Linked DNA regions of Homo sapiens: all the other regions are linked to region 1. Evidence: promoter capture Hi-C in human tissues and cell types (Jung and others, 2019). All regions are on one chromosome and are shown on one strand. Each heading gives the region's core, a stretch centred on a gene start or on the middle of the fragment in contact. The rest is flanking DNA. Distances are from core to core; before and after follow the strand shown. Region 1 holds the start of LCAT (lecithin-cholesterol acyltransferase). Region 2 overlaps NFATC3 (nuclear factor of activated T cells 3). Region 3 overlaps NFATC3 (nuclear factor of activated T cells 3).

Region 1 (3,122 bases), core at 1-2,500:
TGCTGCTGTCCAGGTACTCCACAGAGTAGGTCTTGCCAAAGCCAGGGACGCGGATCTGGACACCAGGGGCGTTGGACACGAGCCCAGAGCTCCGGTTGTAGACAACCCTGCGGGGCGGGGGTGCCACTCAGCAGCCAGTAGCCAAGGGGCAGCGTGTTGGGGCTAGGGTGGAGCACATGGCTGTACCTGGTGTTATCGATCCAGCAGTCTACCCCAAGGGGTAGGAACATGTTGAGATCCAGCCAGATGGTGAAGAAGTCCTCTGTCTTGCGGTAGCACATCCAGTTCACCACATCTGGTTTGTCCAGCTTGGCTTCTAGCTGATTCCCCAGGCAGCCGGGCACTGTGAGCAGCAGCCCTCACTCTGGACTCTGGATTCCCCCCGTGACCCTTACCCCCGTCACCCCAGATGCTGCAGTGACCAGACCCACCCCCCACCTCCCATACCCTCAACCCCCAGGTACAAAGCACACTTACCCTCCCCTGCTTACACCCCCTCTCCCTGCTGTCCCCCCAGTAGCCAAAGCCCAGGCTTCCCTGAGGAAGGGAAGGCGCTGAGGTGCTGAGGCCAAGGCCGCTGACCCCTGCCTCTGCAGAGCAAACACCCAGTCTGGCGCTCCTTTATTGCCAAAGTCCAAGGTGGGAACAGATAGGTCTGGGGGCATGGGGGCTGGGCCTAATAGGGGCCGGGCATGGATGGGCCTCTCCTGCTCACCGATCCTGGGCTGGGCATCTTGTCCTTGGTGGGTGGGGGCCAAGGAAGGAGTGGTGGGGCTTGGCCCAGAGTCTGGTGTGGCTGTGACTGACCACAGCTTGTGATGCCCCAGCCAAGACCTCAGGCACACCCCGTCCCCCACTCCGCCCCCCCTGGGTTAGACAACTGAGAGTCACAGTGTGGTGGGAGAAGGGACGTCATTCCTCTAAGGGACAAGCTTTTGGCCCCTCCCCACACCAGGGCAGGTACTTATGTCGGGGCTTATGCAGGGCAGAAGGGCTTTGGCCAGGTCAGCTGCCAGGGGCTGGGGCCCAGGCTCCCCAGGGTCTGGCGTGGTGCATCAGGGGCCTGGTGGGGGCTTACCGAGGATGACGGGCCGTGTGTGGTTACTGAGCTCAGCCTTGGGCGTGGTGTGCGGGGGGAAGAGCACATTGAGGAGCCAGAAGGGGGCGGCAGGAGGGAGCAGCAGCCCCAGCAGCAGCGTCACCCACTGCCATGGGGAGCCGGGCGGCCCCATTCCAGCCCTGGTGCCTACTGCCAGAGAAAGCGGCACTGGGCTGTCCTTATCTGGTGTGGGAGTGGGAGGGGCCCTAGGGCCAGTGGGAGGGACGGCCTGGCCAGTGGGGGTTGTGGCCAGAGATTGCCGGAAAGGGGCACAGCCTCAGGGAGCCGGCTCTGGGCCTGGGTTCAGTTCCGCCTTCTTCTCTTGGCGCCAGGGGAAACAGAGCCGGGGCAGCAGGAGGCCCAGAACTACACAATGTTTTATTGAAAAAGTCAGGCCTCAGCTCAGCTGTCTCCATTCGGCTCAGCTTGGTGGGGGGCCCTGCCCATAGTAGACTGAGCCAGATCTTCCTGCAGGCAGCTGGGCTGGACTCCCTCCCTGGCTACCCTTCCCTTCGTCTCTGATGGTGACATCCAAACAATAAATATGCAATAAATAGCGCTCCTGGGCTGGGCCGGGCCGGCTGCCTTCAAACCCCACTCGGCCCCTACCAGTCTTCTCTGGCCAGGACAGGCCTACTGGGGTGCTAGATAGTAAAGTCCCCAAACATCCCAGGGTCCCACAAGACCTGGGATCCATCTCCATTTTGAGGCCCAGGCCTGGTTTCCAAGGAGACCTAGCAAAGCTGGGTCCAGGACAGGGCCAGGCAAGCAGGGCTGGCAGGTGGGTGCTGGGAAGAGGCTGTTACCCCAGACCACAGCTTGTTATGTCCTGGCCAAGACCTCGACTCCAGGCCACAAGATGACACTGGGCTCAGGAGTAGATGGTGATGACTTCACGGCCACCACCGCGCACCAACAGCACCCGCTCAAGGCCCTCGGTCAGCACCTCGAGGAACTCCATGTCTGCAGGGCCTCAAGTCAAGGAGGCAACAACAGAATCAACGGGCAACCCGGGCCACCTGGGCCATGCCCACCCAGGGGTGCCCAGGAGAGAAGCCGCTGGCTTGACCTCCCATGCTATCCACCTCCCAACTGCCTGCCTCTCCACAAAGGGATACAGTTCTCGTCGCCCTCACTGTTCCTGGGTGGGCCAGGCATGTTTAGGAGAACCAGGCGGGCGTCGTGGGAGCGCGTGACAATGACTTCATTGAGCTTCACAGCAGTGTGCATGCGCCGCACATTGGATTGGTCCCTACACGTAGTGTAGCCAGTCACAGGTCGCCATGAGCCATCCTGCAAGGAGGGTCCCCACCCCTGGCCCATCTAACACTACTTGTCTGCCCCACCCCACCTCCACCCCTAGATTCCAGTGCCGCTGGGGCTGTTTTTGCTGCACTCACGGCTTAATGTGCACCAGCTCCCGGAAATTGTCAGGGGCATGGCTGGGGTCCCAGGTCTCAGTCATGTACTTGTCCCTGGTCCACGTCATCTGGATCTTGTCAGCCCCCACTGCAGACTCATCTTCCTCGTCCGAGTACAGGCTCTCCAGCCGCAGGGCCGAGTGCCGATCCTTGACCAGCTGGGCCTGAGGACAATTGCAGGAGATAGCCTTGGTCCCATAGGAAAAGGGGGATGGGGCCTGTCTGGCCCAATGTGACCACCTTGCCTCCGGGAAATGAGCACTAGCTTGGGTAGGGCTGCGGTGAGTCATTCTGATTCCTCCGCACCCACCGATGCGGTCTCCAAAGGCCTGACCCTGCCACCCGCCCTGGCGTGAACCACAAAGGGCACTGACTTCTCGCTCCCGCTCAGTCTTGGTCAGTCTCATCTGCCGCAGCATCTGCGACCGCTGCTCCATCATCAGCGTCCGCTCGTAGGTGTATGCAGAGATGTCACTGTTATGCTGGGGACAGGGTTGGCCGTGAGGACCCAGCTGCACGGGACATGGTATCCACGGGGCCAGGGCAGGGCAGAGGGCTCACCATCTCCACCACCTCCACCTCGGCCTCAAGGCGCAGATGGT
Region 2 (3,083 bases), core at 164-2,663, 160 kb after region 1:
TGCCATCCGTATATTATTTTTGGTCTAGTGTCTAAGTCTTTGCCCCTTTTTAGATTGGGTTGTTTTCTTATTGTTGAATTTTGAGAGTTCTGTGTGTGTGTGTGTGTGGGGTGTGTGTGTGTGTGTGTGTGTGTGAAACAAGTCTATCAAATATATGCTTTGCAGAGAGTTTCTCTCAATCTGTGATTTGTTTTTTAATTCTATTAATAGTATCTTTTGTAGAAGTTTTACATTTTGATGAAGTTTGCCTTACCAATTTTTTCTTTCATGGATTGCACTTTTGGTGTTACAGCTAAGAAATCTTTGCCTAACCCATGCTCACAAAGATTTTCTCCTCGGTTTTCTTTTCTTTTCTTTTTTTTGAGACACAGTCTTGCTCGTGTTGCCCAGGATGGAGTGCAGTGGCATGATTATGGCTCGCTGCAGCATCAACCTCCTGGGCTCAAGCTATTCCTCCTGCCTGAGCCTCTGTAATAGCTGGAACCACAGGTGTGCACCACCATGCCCCGCCAATTTTTAAATTTTTCGTAGAGATATGGTTTCACTGCATTGGCCAGGCTTGTCTCAAACTGTAGGGCTCAAGTGATCCTTCCTCCTTGGCCTCCCAAAGTGTTGGGATTACAGGAGTGAGCTACTGTGCCTGGCTGCTAGGTTTTCTTTTGGAAGTTTTATAGTTTTAGGTTTTTTTTTTTGTTTTTTTTTTTGAGACGGAGTCTCGCTCTGTTGCCCAGGCTGGAGTGCAGTGGCGCGATCTCGGCTCACTGCAAGCTCCGCCTCCCGGGTTCACGCCATTCTCTTGTCTCAGCCTCCCAAGTAGCTGGGACTACAGGCGCCTGCCACCACGCCTGGCTAATTTTTTGTATTTTTGATAGAGATGGGGTTTCACCATATTATCCAGGATGGTCTTGATCCCCTGACCTCATGATCCGCCCGCCTCTGCCTCCCAAAGTGCTGGGATTACAGGCATGACCCACCGCACCCGGTCCCAAAGTATCTTTTAGGTGCCTGAGTCTCAGCATTTTTGACACATCAATTCGTCTGTCAATTTTATTTTCTTGGAGACTTTCCTTTCTCTCAGAGCCTTCTAAACTAATCTGGATTAGTGGATACCTAGCATGTTGTACATCTGTCATTGTGAGACCTCACTTCTCTGTCATCTTGAGTTCTTTGCATTTCTGTTATTGTGTTGTCATTTGTTTCTTTGCAACTCATTTTGGTGGAGTACTTCCTTCAGTAGCTTACTGATGGTAATAGGAGGTAAATTTTTGTGACCTTATATATTTAAAGGTCTTCACCAGGCGCAGTGGCTCACGCCTGTAATCCCAGCACTTTGGGAGGCTGAGGCAGGTGAATCACAAGCTTAGGAGTTAGAGACTAGCCTGGCCAACATGGTGAAACCCCGTCTCTACTAAAAATACAAAAAAATTAGCTGGGTGTGGTGGTGCGTGGCTGTAATCCCAGCTACTTGGGAGACTGTGGCAGGAGAATCGCTTGAACCCAGGAGGCAGAGGTTGCAGTGAGCCGAGATTGCACTACTGCACTCCAGCCCTGGTGACAGTGTGAGACTCCATCTCAGGAAAAAAAAAAAAAAAAAAAAAAAAAAAGTCTTCATTCTCCCCTCACACTTAATTTTGGCTGGTTGTAGAATTCTAAGTTAGATATCATTTTCTCTCATAAATTTGAAGGCATTGCTCTCCATTTTCTCCATTTTATTCCATTGTTGTTGAAAAGTCTGATGCCATTCTGATTCTTGATTCTTCATGTGTAACCTGTTACCCTCCTCTGAGTCTTTTAGGTTCTTCTCTTTGTCCTTTGTGTTCTGATTTTTTCAGTTCCATTGTAATCTCAGGAGACCATTTTCACATACGTGGTCTGTCATTGACCAAAACATCATCAAGCAGTACCTGACTACCTACAAATGTAATTGCTTGTCATATGGTAATTCTCTATGTAAATTTTTGAGGCACCATCAAACTCTTTTCTACAGCAACTCAGCTGTATCACTTTACATTGCCACTAGTAATATATGAGGGTTCTTATTTATCTGTATCCACACTAACACTTGTTTTCTCTTTTTGTTTATTTTTTCAAATTAAAGCCATCCTGGGAGTGTGAAATGGTATCTCTCTGTGGTTTTTATTTGCATTACCTAATGACCAGTGATGTTGAACATCTTTTCATGTGCATGTTGGTCATTTGTATATCTTCTTTGGAGAAATGCCTATTCATGTGCTTTGTCCATTTTTTAATTCAGCTGTTTGACTTTTTGCTGTTCAGTTATAAAAACTCTATATATTCTGGATACTAAAGCCTTATCAGATCTAAGATTTACAGATATTTTTTCCCATTCTGTAGGTTGTCTTTTCACTTTTCTTTTTTCTTCTTTTTTTTTTATTTTATTATTATTATTATTATTTTCTTCTGAGACAAGGTCTCACTCTGTTGCCCAGGCTGGAATGCCATGGTGTGTGATGTTGGCTCATGGCAGGCAGCCTTGACCTCCTTGGCTCAAGTTAGCTTCCCACCTCAGCCTTCCAAGTAGCTGGGACTACAGGTGCATGCCACCATGCCCAGCTAAGTTTTGTATTATTTTGTGGAGATGAGATTTCACCACGTTGCCCAGGTTGGTCTCAAATTCCTGGGCTCAAGTCATCTGCCTGCCTCAGCCTCCCAAAGGGTTGGGATTACAGGCATGAGCCACTGGGCTTGGCCTCACTTTCTTGATGGTGCCCTTTGGTGCACAAAAGTTTTTAATTTTACCAAGTTGTATTAATTGAGTTCTTTTGTTGCTTGTGCTTTTACTATTAAGAATCCATCGCCAAATCTGAAGTCTTGACAGTGTACTCCTATTTTTGCTTCTAAGAGTTTTATGCTTTTAGCTCTTATATTTAGGTTGTTGATCCTTTTTGAGTTAATTTTTGTATATGGTATGAGGAAGGGGTTCAACTTCATTCTTTTGCATGTGATAATCCAGTTTTCCCAGTACCATTTGTTGAAGGAACTATTCTTTTTCCATTTAAAGTCTTAGCACCCTTGTAAAAAATCAATTGGCCATAGATATTCGGGTTTATTTCTGAACTCTC
Region 3 (2,909 bases), core at 163-2,662, 180 kb after region 1:
ACAAATATCTATTTGACATTTCCACTTGGAAAGCTTACTGGACTCTCATATTTAATATGTACAAAGTAGAAGTTTTGGTTTCTTATCTCAAGTCTGTCTCACTTTCTTTATTTCAGTAATTGCTGTTCTTTCAGAAATTCAGAAAATTTCAGAAATACTGTATTGTTGTTGTTGTTTTTTGAGACAGCCTCGCTCTGTTGCCCAGGCTGGAGTGCAATGGCGCGATCTTGGCTCACTGCAAGCTCTGCCTCCTGGGTTCACGCCATTCTCCCACCTCAGCCTCCCGAGCAGCTGGGACCACAGGCGCCTGCCACCACGCCCGGCTAATTTTTTGTATTTTCAGTAGAGATGGGGTTTCACCGTGTTAGCCAGCATGGTCGTGATCTCCTGATCTCGTGATCCACCCGCCTCGGCCTCTCAAAGTGCTGGGATTAAAGGTGTGAGCCACTGCGCCCGACCAATACTGTGTTTTTAATAATAGTTCAAGGCTTTAAACCTTGGTGTCACCCTTGACTGTTCTTTCACATCCAGTCAACAAGTTCCGTCAGCACTACTTTAATCCAAAATCTGACTTCTTAATGCTGCTTCTGCTTTTACAGCTCACTACCACTTAGGTCCTGTATTCCATCTTTTCTCACCTGGATGATTACAGTAGCCTCCTAAATTTATATCAGTTCATATATATCAAATGATGATACTTTTCTGTTTAGAATGCTCCAGTGGTTTCCCATCTCGTAAGGCCTTACTTGACTAGCCTCTCCCTGACCACCCGTAGCTCTCATTATTCTGCCTCCTTACTCAGTTCAAGTCCCACTGGCCTTGTTTTTTCTCATACAGTACACTTCAACAATGCTGTACCTCAGGTCTTTGCACTTACTATTATCCTCTGCCTGCATTATGCCCCTAAATTTCTGTATAGCTCAGTTACATTAATATTCTTCTGCTATTTCCTCAAGTATTAGAGAAGGCTTTCCAGACTTTCCTATTAAATTAACATCTTTGCCTCCTCTATATTTTTTCCCGTTTTATTTTCTCTTACAGCAAATATCACTACCTGACATATTTTACTAGAATGTAAGCTCCATGAGGAGGGGATTTTGTTTTGTTTACCATGGTGTTTTTAGTATTCAGAACATGCCTGCTTACATAGTAGTTGCTAAAAAATTTTTTTGTTAAATGAATAAGTTGAATCATGTTGTTTCCAGTGTAGACAGAATAGGTATATGTGGTTGAAAAATGAACAGCACAAAGTTAGCTCCCCAAAAATGGCAAAGTGAAATAAAGAAACATTTCTGAAGAACATTGTTGAACTGTAATCCCAGCACTTTGGGAGGCTGGGGCAGTTGGATTGCCTGAGCCCAGGAGTTCAAGATTAGGCTGGGCAACAAAACGAGACCCTGTCTCTACAAAAAAAAAAAAAAAAAATTGCTGGGAGTGGTGGCATGCACCTGTGGTCTCGGCTACTTGAAAGGTTGAGGTGGGAGGATCACTTGACCCAGAAGTTTGAGGCAGCAGTGAGCTATGAGTGCACCACTGCACTCCAGCCTGGGTGACAGAGCGAGACCTAGTCTCAAAAAAAAAAAAAAAAGTCCGGGTGTGGTGGCTCATGCTTGTAATCCTGGCACTTTGGGAGGCCAAGGAGGGTAGATTGCTTGGGGTCAGGAGTTTGAGACCAGCCTGGACAACATGGCAAAACCCTGTCTCTACTAAAAATAACAAAAATTAGCCGAGTGTCATGGCAGGCACCTGTAATTCCAGCTACTTGGGAGGCTGAGGCTTGAGAATCGCCTGAACTTCGGAGGCAGAGGTTGCAGTGAGCCAAGATCGCACCACTGCATTCAAGCCAGAGAGAGACTCTGTCTCAGAAAAAAAAAAAAAAAAAAAAATTAGCTAGGCATGGTGGCGAGTGCCTGTAGTCCCAGCTACTCAGGAGACTGAGACAGGAGGCAGGAGAATTGCTTGAATCCAGGAGGCAAGATTGCGCCACAGCACTCCAGCCTGGGCGACAGAGCAAGACTCCATCTCAAACAAACAAACAAACAAACAAAGAAAAACCCACTTTTGGAACTCTCCTACCTTTGACTACTTGTTATGTTGGATAATATATACAGGTTGATAATGCAGGTTGTTATGTTGGATAATATATACAGGTCATATTCAAAATCTGGAATGTTCCAATATCCTATACTTTTTAGCTCTGACATGATGCCACAAGTGGAGAATTCTTAACACAGACTTTTTTTCATTCACCGAATTATTAAAAAATATTGTCCAAAATTACCTTTCAGGCTATGTGAATAAGGTATATATGAAACATAAGTGTATTTCATGTTTAGACTTGGGTCCCATATCAAGATATCTCATTGTGTATTTGTAAATGGGCCAAAAAAAAAAAATCCAAAATCCCAAGCACTTCTGGCCTCAAGCATTTTGGATAAGGGATATTCAGCCTGTGTCCCCTCCCCCTTTTTCAGCTACATTGAGTTGGATTTTCTGTTCTTTGCAGCCTAGGAATATCTCATTTCTTTTCTTTTCTTTTTTTTTTTTTTTTTTTTTTGAGACGGAGTCTTGCTGTGTCACCCAGGCTGGAGTACAGTGGCGTGATCTGAGCTCACTGCAGCCTGTATGCTATGAGTATTTTTTAGAATTATGGATGTGTTTTTTTTTTTTTAATAAACACATTTATTGAGCTGGGCACAGACGCTCCCTCACACCTGTAATCCCAGCACTTTGGGAGGCTAAGGTGGGAGGATAGCTTGAGCCCAGCCTTGGCAACAAAGCAAGGCCCTGTGTCTACCAAAAATGACAATAAAAAGTAACCAGGAGTGTGGCATGTACCTGTGTCCCAGCTACTCCAGAGGCTGAGGAAAGGATCACTTGAGCCTAGGATGGGAGGTTGAGGCTTTAGT

What was found. The method cuts DNA at HindIII sites, captures the fragments that hold promoters and counts their contacts. A contact is called where the count stands out against the background at its distance.
Region 2: a contact is called between a fragment that was not itself captured here and the fragment with the promoter of LCAT in region 1, in 1 of the 25 tissues and cell types used here (spleen).
Region 3: a fragment that was not itself captured here is called in contact with the fragment with the promoter of LCAT in region 1 in 1 of the 25 tissues and cell types used here (dorsolateral prefrontal cortex).

The regions. Positions count from the first base shown.
Region 1 is chr16:67,942,870-67,945,991 of GRCh38, forward strand. LCAT (lecithin-cholesterol acyltransferase) reads right to left here and starts at 1,251. Exons shown (of 6, transcript NM_000229.2): 1 at 1,079-1,251; 2 at 187-343; 3 at 1-107. The coding sequence starts at 1,232. SLC12A4 (solute carrier family 12 member 4) reads right to left here. Exons shown (of 24, transcript NM_005072.5): 20 at 3,082-3,122; 21 at 2,895-3,002; 22 at 2,500-2,684; 23 at 2,218-2,351; 24 at 605-2,062. The coding sequence ends at 1,971. RefSeq lists an enhancer at 1-382. The HindIII fragment of the contact is 35,269 bases long and covers 1-3,122 here.
Region 2 is chr16:68,100,798-68,103,880 of GRCh38, forward strand. The region is part of intron 1 of NFATC3 (nuclear factor of activated T cells 3); the gene reads left to right. Among named protein-coding and RNA genes, the nearest start is that of NFATC3, 17 kb to the left of the region's middle. The HindIII fragment of the contact is 6,699 bases long and covers 1-3,083 here.
Region 3 is chr16:68,118,708-68,121,616 of GRCh38, forward strand. The region is part of intron 1 of NFATC3 (nuclear factor of activated T cells 3); the gene reads left to right. Among named protein-coding and RNA genes, the nearest start is that of NFATC3, 35 kb to the left of the region's middle. RefSeq lists a silencer at 365-494. The HindIII fragment of the contact is 9,616 bases long and covers 1-2,909 here.